Regions from separate parts of the Homo sapiens genome. Here region 2 is linked to region 1. The links are contacts of gene promoters, found by promoter capture Hi-C in human tissues and cell types (Jung and others, 2019). All regions are on one chromosome and are shown on one strand. The core of a region is centred on a gene start or on the middle of the fragment in contact, and the rest is flanking DNA. Distances in the headings are between cores, read along the strand shown.

Region 1 (7,204 bases), core at 633-3,132:
GACCTCGGACAATTTACAGTTTAGCTGTGGAGGTAAGACAGGGACACAGAATATTATGTGGCAATTGAAAGTGTAAATATTATAGATTTAAGTAGGGTAAAGAGCTCATTCTGTAGTAGAGGGGTCAGTGAAAAGTAATTGTTCACCTGGTAATAAGAGAAGATCTCTGTGAACAAAGTCTAAGACTGCAAACTTAGGACTGTTGGGAGATAGTCAGATAGATTCATATATAGATACAAATCTTTACCATCCTCAGACATCCGCCAACTTGGTTGTTTAGGTTGTAGGGCTTACATGAGGAAGGGTGTATAATAGATAACTCTAAAAATGTTTGAGCCTTAGACCCAGTGAGTGAGAAAGAGTGTCATCATTTAATATTCTCCTGACATTCACCTGCCCCTTCTGCATCTGTGGCTGTGACTGAGGACTTGGTTCTTTATATCACCCAGTGTTCATGAGGATTCTCTGGAGAAATTTCTTGCTGGTCTCAGTATCAAGAAAGGGGGATCTTCTCTTGAGCAATTTTGTTTTTGGTCTTGCATGTGATAGGAATTGAACTTTAGACAAGGCCTCTCTTTAAACTTGACTGCTAGAAATGCAGGAGACAAATTTTGGTCCCACCTGTAGCAAGGGTATTTGACTCTATGAGATGCATTTATTTCAAATGATGTTCATTTTTGGCTCCATCTTGTGTGCCTCATTTTTCATTTCACACACTTCTTTTTGTAGGTTATGTGCTCTTGTAAGCTATCTCGAATTCTGTTTTAAGGACAAGGTAGCATATAAATATAAGGAAATATATAAATGAAACAGAGGAAGGCTTTAAAGTCCAGAACACTATGGCCAGGAAGACAACTATGACTGTGGCTAGAGTTATGGTCTGTGGCCGTGATAATGAGTGTGTTATTAGGGCAGTCCAGCAGTGATTACAGGGAGTCAGACAGACCTCAGTCCAAGTCAGAGGTCTCTCTGCTGTTTATTAGTTGTATGATCTAAGGCATAGCATTCTCTAAACCTTCATTTTCTCATCTTTACAACAGTGATCTCTTTGTATCAGGGAGAGTGGATTAAATGAGGTAATGTATAGAAAGCACTTAGCACAACCGCACTCAATCATTAGCTATTGAGATTATCAGCACTATCACCTGGACAAGCAGCGGATGGGCCGCCCCTCTTGGCCAGGTCTTCTGTGCGCACTGACGTTGTATGAAAGTTGTCCCCACATCTCCTACACCCACCGACGCCAGGCGGCCGCGTCTGGGCCAGATATGGATCACGCCTGTGGAGCGCACCTCCACACAGGCAGCCCTCGTCCAAGGTGCAGGGCGCAGGGCACAGGGCACATGTCTACGGCCCAGTCCTGCAGACGGCTACCTAGAGACCCCAGGGCACAGGTTAAGGCAACTTCACAACTGTCTTTCCGTTCCTTTCCCCTGCCGGACTCCGCGCTCTGATATATACAGGAGAGGCCCTGGAGGGGAGAAGGCGTCCTCACTGCAGTGCTCCGAGCAGCGGCCGCAGGAAGAGGCGTGGAAGCTGCGGGTCGGCTGCGGGAAAGGGGGTCCCATGGGAGCCGCTAGGCGCAGCCCGTTTCCCGAGCTGAGGTGGAGGTCGACGGGCACAGGTGCCCTGCAAGGCGCGGGCGTGGTAGCCGGGAGCCCGCTCCTCTCCAACTCCCCTGAGACTTAACCCTTTGGCCAAGAGAGGTCGAAGGCGGGCAGGGGTGAGAGAACCGCGCGAGGCGCAGGCCGGGGCACCCGCGGAAAGGGGGCAGGTTTCGGGGAAGAGCGGCGGGGCGCCGCACGTTTCCTGCAGCCGCCAGCATCAGCGTGTCAGGTGGTTGCCAGGCGGGTGTGAGCGCGCGCGCGAGGCAGAGGGGGCGCGCTCGCACAAAGTTTGTGCCTGCGGTGCACCTCGGTCGGGCTCGCCGGGCTCGAGGGCTGGCGGGCGCCGGGGCTACGAGGCCCGGGGGGGAGAGAGCCGGCAGGCGGCGGCGGTGGTGGCGGGGGCGATGCGCCGCGCCCGGCCGCGCTAGGTGAGCCGGCACCGGGAGCGCGGGCCGCGGCCATGGGCACCCTGGGCAAGGCGAGAGAGGCTCCGCGGTGAGTAGAGGCGGCCGTGGCCCTCGGGAGCGCCTGTGTCCTTTCTTGGGAAAGAGGCCCCTGCCCGTCGCCCCAACACCCCGAGGGAAGTTGAGGGCGGAGGGGGGCCGGGGTCGGCCGGAGTCCCGGGACACCAGCGCGACGGGCGGACGTGTCCAGAACGCCCGGCGCGCTGCGCCCGGGGTTTCGGGGAGGGAGCTGGGGCTGAGGGGTGGTAGAGGGGCGGCCGCGAGGCCAGAGCTCGTCCGGTGAGATCTGCTAGGGCCGAAGCTCTTCGCGGAGCCGGCGCCCGCCCGCCGACTTCCTCCCCCACATCTCCACGCCCGGCATCGGGACTCCCACTCGCGGACTTTCCGCGCTGCCCGCACCTGCTGGGGCGCTGGGCTCCGGCTGCGCCACCTGGTGGCCCCTCCCGGCCCTGCCCAGAACGGCCGAGGAGCTTGCAGGGAGCCCGCAGAGGTGGCACCCCTCGGTTGCCCCTGCCCCACGGAAGTTTCCAGATCCGTGGGTCAGGGAAACATATCGCCTTCCGTATGGGAAGCTGCACTCCTCTCCCCCTCACTATGATTCTATAGAGGGTCTTGGATAACAGAAGTTGAAGAAAGAGGGACAGTGAGTGAAAGGGCTCTTGGCCAGGCAGCTTTGAGTTTGTAGCCAAAGGACCAGAACTAGGCAACTGCATGAACAAAGGCCTGGCCTCGGCGTAGGGGCTGGACAAGTTGTGCACTTCACAACTCCATTCACATCGACACTGATGGGACTGTGCCTTGCACCACCATACCCAGTAGCGGCAGGAAGCTTGCGATGCTGGACTTCCCGTGCTTATAATCCCAGGAACGAAGGATTCTTGGCCCTGTATGCACGCCCTGCCTCTCCCCATCCAGGTATCCCCTGAGGGTCCACCACTGTACTTTGCACTAGATTCAGAAGGAGGAGTTCAGTACATTAAATTGAGTATTGTAAGGGGAAGAGGACGGGACTGGAAGGAATCCATACTAGAAGTCAAGAGAGTCACCTTCCACTGCAAAGAAAGTTGTGGAAGTTCCAGTTCCCTTGCTCCATTTCATCTCTTACTTTTCTAGGCGGATTTCATAAAAAGCTCAGCCTGAAACTGACCTCCACTGAGATACCTATGCCTGGAGAGGATTTCACCTAAACCAGTTTAGAGTTTTGACGGTCTCCTTCAGCAAACCTATGGGGCTTTGGTTACTTTTAGGCTTGGAAAACACCTTCAAGTTAATTTGTTTCTCTCGGGGTTTTGGTTTTTTCATTTACAGGAAAACATTTGGCTACTGTATTTTTTTAAAAAATATGCCTTTACAGACTCAGAGGCCATTCATTCTATGGATTGTTAAAACACCTTCGACCTGCCTATAATAGAGCATTTTATAAATCCTTGTCTACTCCCATTTCACCAGAAAAGGCAGAACGATTTGAGGATTTTTCACAAGGCAACCAGTTAAGAGACTGTACAGCAAGAAAGCCAGGTTTCCTAGTCTATGGTGCAGATAATCCCCATCTTCTTAGAACTCTGAGGCTGCACTTTGGCTTTTAGTACTTTCTCTTCTCCCTGTTCTCTCATGGCCTAGTCCTCTGAGTCTCTCTGGGCTCCATACTTCCCAGATTGCTTTTGTCACCCTTTCTTCCCTTTTACTACCCTATACTTTACCCTGATCCCTTCTAGTTCTGGTAAAAGCATCAACCTTCAAGAATCCACTTATGAAACAAAGCGGTTTCTCTTACTGGTGACACTAGGAAACTTTACCAGAATTAGAAAACAGGGCAGGATTAGGAGTCTTGAATGGTCAGTGTCACCAACCAAGAAAGAAAATGGAATTTTCCTTGGATCTGTAGCCACCTCCCCTCCACCCCTAGCAGGAAGAGCTCTGTCAGTAGATAGAGCCTCTAGTTGCAGTTGCCTCTTCTCCAAGGTCTAGGGAGAAGTATTGTGGAAGGCCTGAGAGAAGGAGACTTCTACAATGAATGACTTTATTTTTTTAAAACCTTTCCCCTACTCTGCCTTTGGTGGAGGTCTTAATGGTGACAAAGGCAGCAGCTGGGGCAGAAAGCTGAGTAATCCCAGCAGTGGCTATGTAGCCCCAGGTGTAGAGAGTTGTTAGTGCTTCCAGGAAGGGAAGGGCGCCCACCTGGGGCGCACTGCATGGGCCACAAGGGGCTGGCTTCTAGCCTGTCTCTGCAGTGGTGGCCAGGCACGTTGCTCTTCTGATTCTGGACCTCCACACTGTAGAAGGGGGCTTTGGAAAATGACCATAAAGAGTCTGTCCAGCTCTAGGGACCTGAGGACAGTTCTGAGGGCCTGCAAGAGGAATATGGGCTGAGATTCAGCCTTTACATTACCAGTTATGCTTTTGAAGGATTTTGCTTTCATTTTAAATTGAATTGACCTTTTCAGCCTCTCTGTGATTGTCTACTACTAATCCTGATGTTGTGAAATGTGCAGAGTTCCAGGCACAGTCAATATTTATTAAATGAATAAAGCCAGAGAGGTGCTGGGTACAAATCTCAGGTTGATTATATATGAGTTTTATAACCTTGGCTATGTCATTTACCCTTTTTTAGATTCAGTTTCAGTGTCATGAGATGGGGATAACATCCTTCTGGGCTGTAAGCCTCAAGACAGGGTCAGTCCCCAGCACGGTACCTGCCATAGCATAGGTACTCAATTCATGTCACCATTATTATTTTGCTTTTAGAGACTGATCCAATTCTGGGGCTATCACAGGGCCTGTTTGAAAATCAATTATGGCCAGAAACTTGAGTCCTGTACCACCGACTTGATCTTTCAGGAATTACTGCCTAGGGTTAGCAGATGCCCAATAACCAATTGTTGATTCAGTTTCACTGGACCTGCATCAGGTCAGAATAGAGCCGAGCGGCCACTGCAGACCAGCGCCCTGGAGCTAGTTTGAAACAACCTGAAGGGCCAGGGTGCCCCTGCACAGGTCTAGCTGTGTACTGAGTGGCCCCATAGTTCAGTTATACACCATCTCTTAGCAGGCTGGTTTCCCAAAACCCACATGTGCCTAGCATTTTATTTTGATCTAAGCACTTCTTCAGCCCCTTTGGTTGAGATTATATCCTGTCAGAGCAGCTTTCCCAGACACTGTCCCACAAACTGCCTCTTTCTTCTCTGGGAACATCATGCTTATTACTCTTGACACTCATAGAACACTTATTTAACATTTATGTAGCTTTCTTTTCATTATCTCAGTCTGATTCCTCAGCTATATTTTTGTATTAAGGAACTTCTAGACTGCCATTATGTAACAACAGCAGCTAGTATGTAATGAGTATATAAAGTACCCTCACCTAGACTATCTCGCTGTGGTCTTCTCTGGCCAATCACAATGCCTTACTCATAGAATAAACACTTAGAGATTAATTGATGCCATTATGCATTTATCATATATAGTGAGTAAAGTTACACTTCAGAGGTACGTTTTTTTCCTTTTTCTCTTTGCTGCTTTGGTAGTAAACTACAAAATAACCAAAGCCACAGTAGAGAGAGGAGAATTAACTAAATGCTCAAGAGAGTTACCAGCAACACTCATCACTATTAAACCATAAAAGATTATAGATATGGATCTGTGTGTGTATGTGTATTTTTTAATGGAGAAGACAATCAACTTCCCAAATCATTTCGCAAAATGACTTGTACTGATGAGGTCATGACCAGAGATAGAGCTGCGTGTGAGTAGATGAAAGTCCATTGGACTCTTAAGCCATTTCTAGATCCAAACTTGCCCTTTTACACTGAGTGCTGGAACAACGCTCTCACAGCTCTGCTTTCTGTTTCAATCAGGACCCAAGTAAGGATTTGAAAAAACGATGTTTAGTAACAAAAATGACTCATAATGGTTACCTGTATTATCAACCATGAAAAACAATATCTTAAAACCAACCAAGATTTGTAAGAAAGGCAGGACTCGCTTAAAATCTAAACACCACCATCATCACCCCTCACTTCCTGCACTTGAGTCCTCAGTCTTTGACTTCTCCCCCAAGGTCCTTAACGATGATTCTGAGGCTGCCTGACCTTGTGTAGTATCTCAGGTATTGCTCAAGATTAATGAAGTTAGCCAAAGATGATCTCGAACTCCCGACCTCAGGTGATACACCCGCCTTGGCCTCCCAAGGTGCTGGGATTACAGACGTGAGCCACCATGCCCTGCCAAAGTTAGCCAAAGAAACCAATGTAAATAATTTTTAAGATTCAAGTCAGTGGCTTAGTAGCTGAAAAAATGTATACATTGCTGGGAGCTAAGGACTGCCAAGATAGTCTTGCCTCTGCCATTCCCCTTCAGGAAGTGGGAGACAGTAGGACAGAGCAATCCTAATGCCAGGATGAAGAGCACTAGTTGCAACCCTGAAATCTCACCTTTGCTGGGGAGATGTCTCTTTAACAGCCAACCAGTCATTTGGTGCATTTGCCAAGTGGGAGGGGTATGGCTTCTATCAGCCCAGCTCCTGAGATTAATTGTCTTATCTCCATTCCCTTCCTCTCCAATCTGCCTTCAGAGCGTGGAGCTGCCCGTTTGTCCCCTCACTGCCTTCTCTCTTTCCCCAGGAAACCTTCCCATGGCTGCAGAGCTGCCTCTAAAGCAAGACTAGAGGCAAAGCCAGCCAACAGCCCCTTCCCCTCCCATCCCAGCTTGGCCCACATCACCCAGTTCCGAATGATGGTGTCTCTGGGACATTTAGCCAAAGGAGCCAGCCTGGACGATCTCATTGACAGCTGCATTCAATCTTTTGGTAAGTTGGCTAACTGCCCACAGGCATAAAAATCACTCTATTACTTTGTTCGTCCTTTAAAAGTGCTTTACGGAACAGCAATCTAGATTGTATTTTGGCTTTAAAAATAGCTTTTGAGCCTTTGAAATGTTGGAGACAGTCTGCAGAGCCTATGGCACATGACTATGTGGGTGTAATAGGTCGTGATGAGAAGTGCAATTTTAAAGTGAGAAAAGTTAGGAGAGTTTGCATTTCCATTTTTCTTAGGATGGAGGTTTTTCTTGTGATGAAAAATATCATAAAATGATATTGTGCATCTGGTGCTTTGAGACTTTTCTGTCCTTGCCTTC
Region 2 (7,031 bases), core at 3,980-6,479, 1.2 Mb before region 1:
AGCTTTTCTCAAGTTCTAGTTTTTAGAATGTTCTGGGTGGCATGTTATCTTTCTGTACAAGCATGGCCATGGATATTTTACTGCTTTAAGTCTCTGGGGAAGCTGGTAGTTTTCAAAGAGGTAATGTGTCTGTTTTCCCAGAAGGATTCTCAGATGCACACGATTTCCCAATGCTCTTTTGGAATATCTTTTTCATTTTAGTTACTAGTCTCTTTAACAGGCCAGAATTGTTGCTCTCAAAGATGCAAAGCCAATAAACCGGTTTAAAAGGACAACCAAAGCTAAAATTTTGCAGAGGCAAAATTTAGTTGGAAAAAGGTTCTTCATTATCAATCAAGCACTGTCTGTCAGAGTTGTGGTTAATTCACATGGCTTTGTCTTCCACATCCACTATCTTTGACTATTAAGTATATTACAGAACGAGAAGTCTTAATTTGTATTTTTTTTAACTTTTATTTAAGTTCAGGGCCACATGTGCAGGATGTGCAGGTCTGTTCCATAGGTAAACATGTGCCATGGGGGTTTGTTGTACAGATTATTTCATCACTCAGGTCTTTTTTTTTTTTTTTTGAGACGGAGTCTCACTCTGTCACCCAGGCTGGAGTGGCACGATCTCAGCTCACTGCAAGCTCCGCCTCCTGGGTTCACGCCGTTCTCCTGCCTCAGCCTCCCGAGCAGCTGGTACTATAGGCGCCCGCAACCACGCTGGGCTAATTTTTTGTATATTTAGTAGAGACGGGGTTTCACCATGTTAGCCAGGATGGTCTCGATCTCCTGACCTCGTGATCCGCCCGCCTCAGCCTCCCAAAGTGCTGGGATTACAGGCATGAGCCACCGCGCCCGGCCATCACTCAGGTCTTAAGCCTAGTATCCGTTAGTTATTTTTCTTGAGGAATGACATAGTTACAGCAGTCCCAGGGAGGGCAGACTTGTACCAATGTCACCACTCTCTACCTCTTATTTCCTTTTTGGTTGTATGGGCTGTATGTCCTAATTGTGTTGCTGTGTCCACAGCAATGGCGTTGAGTATTGTCATGGAATTAAACATTAGAAAGTATAATGGGAATACATAGGGAATTGGAATGGTTCCAGAGCTTAGATCATTTCTAGGGTAGATTAGGTGACTTAGAATGTGACCTCTAAAATAAAAAGTATATAGAGGTTGAAAATTTTGTTACTTAAATATATAATGAGTTATCCTTACTTGGTATGCCTTGTAAAACGAAGGAGAATCTGAAGTGCTAATGAGGTTAAATAATCATATAGTTATCTTGCTTTGTTGCTGTGTGGGCATGCACATGTACATGCACACGCACACACACACACACACATTTATTTTTAAATGTGTAACCAAATGGGTATTGGGTATGGGTGCTTGTATCCTGACATGTTCATCCAATTCAGGTTCTTAGAACCAAATGAGTCAGTTTTAAATGAGGAGAGAGCGAGAGCAGAGGTTTAGAGAATGGAAAGAACATAGGACTATTTAGCCTCAGGTTCTTAATAGCAGAAGAGATTAGGCTCTGCATGCTGTCTAGAGGCATATAAATAGATGGAAATAAAATGTGATTATAGCAGTCTCGGGTTTTAAAGAAATAACAGCATGAAAACAACTTTCCTCATTCATGAGCATGTAAATGCTAATAAAACCCCTCAGCAGGCTGCCCTTCACACCTGAGGACTGGTTCCCTGTGAGAGTCTGAGCATGGGGCTGTGGACTCTGTCTAAAAGTGGTTTAAAAGAAACTGTAGTCTGGGGGCCAACTGTACCAACGTGCCTGTTACAGTTGCAGGTTCCCAGTTTCATACTTATGCACTGTGATTCAGTATATCTGGTACAGTCATTCCGACGTATGGTGAGATTTGGGAACTGCTTGCTGACTTAGAATATCTTTACATGACATACATACTACAAAAGGGGTTCTCTTACCACAGGGACTTTTGATTACCGTGTGTCTGCTTATTTTACAAATTCATTTCTTCAACAAATATTTATCAAATGCCTACTCTGTGCCAGATACTGAGCTAGGCATGGAGTTACAACAGTGAACAAGATTGATACAGTTTTTCTTCATGAAATGGAGAGATAACAAGTCAACAAATGAATAATTGTGATGAGAACTATGAAGGATGCAATGGGATATGATAATGGAGCATAATGGAGGCAGGAGCAGTTAGTGTTTAAAATAAAATAATGGTTAGAGAAGGCTTTTTTGACAAGGCAGCATTTAAACTAAGACTGGGATTTAAAGTAATCAGACATATGAACAACATCCCAAGCAGTATAAGAAAATGTATACAAAGGCACTGAGGCAGGATTAGCCCTGATGTGTTTCAGGAATGGCACAAAGACTAGAGTGGCTGGAGCCCAGCAAGCCAGGGGAAGGAAGGTATGAGATTAGGCAGCAGGCATCGGAGTAGGTAAACCCTTGAGGAACATGGTGGGGATTGAGAGGGGTATCAGAAGTTTATCTGGAAAAAGGATTCTGGAGTTGAGGGGAAAACCCTACTTTAGGACATGAATTTGGGAGTCATCAGCATTTTGATGGAAAATTACCAGAATGGGTAGTCTAACGTAGGGAGAGGCTATTGAGAGAGGATAGAGGGGGCGGAGCTGTACCATGCTCTTCTGTAAAACCTGGTAAGAGTAGACTTGCAGCAGCCAAGGACTGGCGGAAGCGGGAGGGTGGAAGGAAAACCAGGAGATTGTAGGCCTGTGGAAGCCACAGAGGACAATGCTCAAAGAGAGATGATTGGTTGCATCATTGCTGCTGAAGTCTAGAACAGTGCTGTCCAGTGTGGTGGCCACTAGCTGCATGTGGCTATTGAAAGGTGACTAGTGCAAACTGAGATGTGCTGTAAGTGTAAAATAAAATGCACATTGCATTTTGAAGACTTAGTACAAAAACAACAATGAAAAATATTAATAATTTTAAAGTAATCATTACATGTTGAAATATTTGGGATCTGTTGGGTTGAATAAAAAATATTATTAAAATCTCACCTGCTTCTCTTTACTTTTTTAAAACATGGCTACCATAAATTTAAGATGACATGTGCGGTTTGCACTGTATTTCTGTTGCAGAGTTTGGCAACATGGAGGTCACTAGAAAACTTGATAAGAGCAGACTGCCTGGGATTAAGTAATAACTAGCAAATTGTTTATACACTGATGAGACTAAGCCATCGTTATAATACTATTTTGCCCAAAATTAAATAGAGAAACTCACCACTAAAATTTTTTCTAGACTTATTGATATGTGATTTAATAATTTCACATAAATTGACTGTAATGTATCATATATGTTAAATTTTAATATTAGGATTTACATTAAATCTTTTGAAATCAACTCTCAAATGTGTTTTTTACATTTTTTAACCTGTACTTTTTTCCTTTTTTTAGTTCTTAAATTTTTATTTAAATTATTTTATTTTCTTTCATATCTGACCAGGAAACTTCATGGTGTTATGGTCAACTTGCCGCACAACCGTGTTCAAATCTGTCACCAACAGGTTCATTAAAAACCTGGCCTGCTCGGGGATTTGTGCCAGCCTGGTCTGTGTGCCCTTCGACATCATCCTCAGCACCAGTCCTCACTGTTGCTGGTGGATCTACACCATGCTCTTCTGCAAGGTCGTCAAATTTTTGCACAAAGTATTCTGCTCTGTGACCATCCTCAGCTTCCCTGCTATTGCTTTGGACAGGTAAGATCAGGTAGCCAGGAGCTAACTTTTTTTTTTAAGTTGTATTAAAAAATTAGCATCATGAAGCAAATGATGAGTAGTCAATGTTCCGTATACTGCTTTTTAGTCAGCTTGTGATCAACAGAAAGGGAATAAATGTGCAAAACAGATGCCTCACAAAGGACAGGTGGATTTAGCAACAGCCATGGAAAATAAAACCATTGAGAGAAGACCTGGGGATGGGAGTTCCATGGTGAGGATGCTGGGGCAGAGCTGCTAGATCATGGTGTCAGTTCAGCTTGGTTGCAGTTGGTGGTATTTGTGTTGCAATTTGCAGTAGATTTTTCATCTGATTGATAACTCTGCAATTAGGGCTTTTTGATGCAGTATGGAACATCTCTGAAAGAACAAGGGAATGATTCAGTGGTTATTTAACAAGCGATTAGATGGTCCACTTGGATCTGGCTAGGTAACACCAGAATTCCTCTGGAGGATTTATTTCCAAGGCTTCATATTGCAGTGGTGATTGCTTTCTCTTCCTATCCTCTTTAAAAAGATGTTCATTTGGAAGTGAACCTTACATCTTAGTTACTGCCATTCTACATAATTTTATCAATTTTATCAAAGTTGCATAAAGATCTCATAATCAGCAAATTCCTGCCTTTCTCCTTTCTAGCTAGTGCTTCATGAATACAGTTTAGATAATATTTTCTAGAGAATTGAATTAAGTAAGCAAACAAGAATTGAAAAGTATTTTATGTCCATGAGTACTTTTGATTTCAAGATTAACATAGAGGAAACGTTGCTGAAGGGAAAGTGCAGGCTATTCTGATTTTATGCCCTATGTTAAAATTTAACTACATTTTAGATTAATTTGAAAATTTAGAACTCTTTGTCCATTCAAAACATAATACCTTAATGACCTGTGAGGGTATTGATTGTAGAACCCATCTATAGAGTCATTTCAGCCTCTCAGGCCAGGGACCCTGATTTCTTCAGCTGCCTGGTGCTGTCTGCATGGAGGGACACAGAGTCACACGAAGCCCCCAGCATACTGGGAGAAGTCATTGCCATTGTGGTTAAGAGAATGGATGTTGGAATAGAAGCCTGGCTTTGAGTCCTGCCTACATAGCTTTCTAGCTGAGTGGCTTTGGGTAAAGCTGCTTAAACTTTCTGAGCCTCAGATTCCAGAGCAGTAGAAATAATTAAGTGAATTATTTATGGCCTGTGTTAGGATGGGCTGCACCAATATTTGCCTCTCTTTCTCAGGCTTCCCTTCTGATGGCACATTCTTCCTTAGATATATTTCTGCAATCATGTTACCATCAGATCTTGCTGGGAGCAGCTCCAGCTCCTTAGAAGGGACTGGAATCTCACCATCCATGGAGCCAAACAAGGCAGGTGACAAGTCAAGCAATAACCAGGTTGCAATTGTGGCACGTGGAGAGTGTGTCCACATTCTCGTTCATGGGGATCAGCCGCTCAGCAGTTGCAGCTAATAATTGCTTTGTAGGAATCTAGACTCGGTGGGCAGGACTTTTTTATTCTTTCAGAAGAGGAATAAAAAAATTTAGAATTCCATAATTTAAAAATGTTGGCAATTATTTTTTTTTTTCAAAAAGTATTATGTGGGTCATGTGAATCCCTTCAGCAAGATGAATGTGTGCCCTGAGATGCCAATTTGCCACGCCTGCTTTATGGTGACGTTGCATGTCTCTTCCATTGCTTTTTGAATATCTGGAAAGTGCCATTGCACAGGACTGGAATATAAGAGTGAAGTCAGAGTCCTTTCTCAAGAGTACTTCCGGTGGGTACACTAATGCATTTTATGTCGAACCATTTTGTGTTCAGTGTCCTTCTGAATGCCCCTGGTAGTACCTGCTGTGGTAAAGTCTTAAGTCTTCAGTTTGATATTCTGGACTGAGATATAATTTACATATTATAAAATTCACCTATTGGAAGTATACAAGTCAATGAATTTTAATATATTTATAGAATTGTACAGCCATCATCACAATATAATTTTAAAACATTTCTATTACCTCACAAAGAAACTTGTGCCCATTTACTTACAGTCACTCCTTGTGCCCATCCCCAGACCATAAACAACTATGAATCTACTCTCTTTTTCTATATGTTTGCTTTATTGGACATTACATGTAGGTGGAATCATACAGTGTGTGTTCTTTTGTGTCTGGCTTCTTTCACTCAGCATGTTTTCAAAGTTCATGTTATAGAATGTATCAGTACTTCATTCATTTTTCATGGCCAAATAATATATTCATTTAATTTTAGGAGTATACTAAATTTGTTTCTCCATTTACTAGTTGGTGGATATTTAGGTTGTTTCTACTTTTTGGATATTGTGAGTAATGCTGCTATGAATCCTGAAAGTTTTTTTTTTTTTTTAAATAAGACTCAACAAGGAGAATACATTATTCTGAACAGTTTGCTGTTATACCTGGAAGCAATGCAATAATCCCTGTGGGTTACTTCTGGGGCCTTGGTCTTAAACAAAGAAATACGAAAACAGTAAGAAATTCTCATTTTCTTTCCAGCAGAAAAGCTATTGTAAATTTATCATAATTTTAAAAAGTAAAACAAGTCCTTTTAGTAGGAAAACAGGGCTGGTGAATTCCTATTTTGTTATTCACAGATGCAAATTACTTACAAGCATCCACATGTACACCTGAAGAAGAGAAGACAGTCTTTTCTCTCACTTCCTTCATAGCTATTCATTTCATGGTACTAAGTCAGCAAGTTCATCGGGAGGTCATCTACACTTCTTGCATCACTGTTTAGAGGTGTACACACTAAGAACATTATTTATAGTGAGCCTGTGTGCTTATGTTGCAATCTGTTTCCCAACATGTAACGGGATTGGAAATTAATGGAAGCCTGGGTTTGTTACATGTCAGTGAGCAAATGGCAGTCAGAGCCAGTGAACTCCTAAGCATCTATTCATGTGTACAGGTGGGGCCATCACATATTTACTGAGTTGTCATTACAAAACTATCTACATTCAGAGAAAAAAAAATGTGAAAGCATGCATCACTTATGCACTTCTTTCTCTTTTTCCCTCCTCCCAGAAAGAAATCTAGAACATATCTTACCATGCTCCCTCCTTCCCTGATTGTCCATGGTCGCTATTGTGTTTGCATCCCATCTCTTTCAGCCTGGAATGTTCCCCTTCAGCTGGTCCCCCTGCCAGACTCCACTGCAGTGTCTCCCTCTCTTGCTATTTTCCCAGGTGGCTTTAGGCGCTACCTGTACCTCCTTTGTGCCTGCCTCTAGTAGAGCTGTCATCTCCTTGTTCGTAATTATTAGTGTGTGTATCTTTGTCCCCGT

Evidence for each region. Contacts are between HindIII fragments. The study calls those that stand out against the background at their distance.
Region 2: a contact is called between a fragment that was not itself captured here and the fragment with the promoter of RASGRP1 in region 1, in 1 of the 25 tissues and cell types used here (pancreas).

Annotation. Positions count from the first base shown.
Region 1 is chr15:38,559,492-38,566,695 of GRCh38, reverse strand. It overlaps RASGRP1 (RAS guanyl releasing protein 1), which reads left to right and starts at 1,882. Exons shown (of 17, transcript NM_005739.4): 1 at 1,882-2,102; 2 at 6,691-6,875. The coding sequence starts at 2,068. RefSeq lists enhancers at 1,276-1,465, 1,307-1,818, 4,201-4,300, 4,361-4,490 and silencers at 1,676-1,725, 1,886-2,125, 2,156-2,375, 2,386-2,585. The HindIII fragment of the contact is 10,595 bases long and covers 1-7,204 here.
Region 2 is chr15:39,803,679-39,810,709 of GRCh38, reverse strand. It overlaps GPR176 (G protein-coupled receptor 176), which reads left to right. Exons shown (of 3, transcript NM_007223.3): 2 at 3,452-3,704. Among named protein-coding and RNA genes, the nearest start is that of FSIP1, 24 kb to the right of the region's middle. The HindIII fragment of the contact is 5,029 bases long and covers 2,715-7,031 here.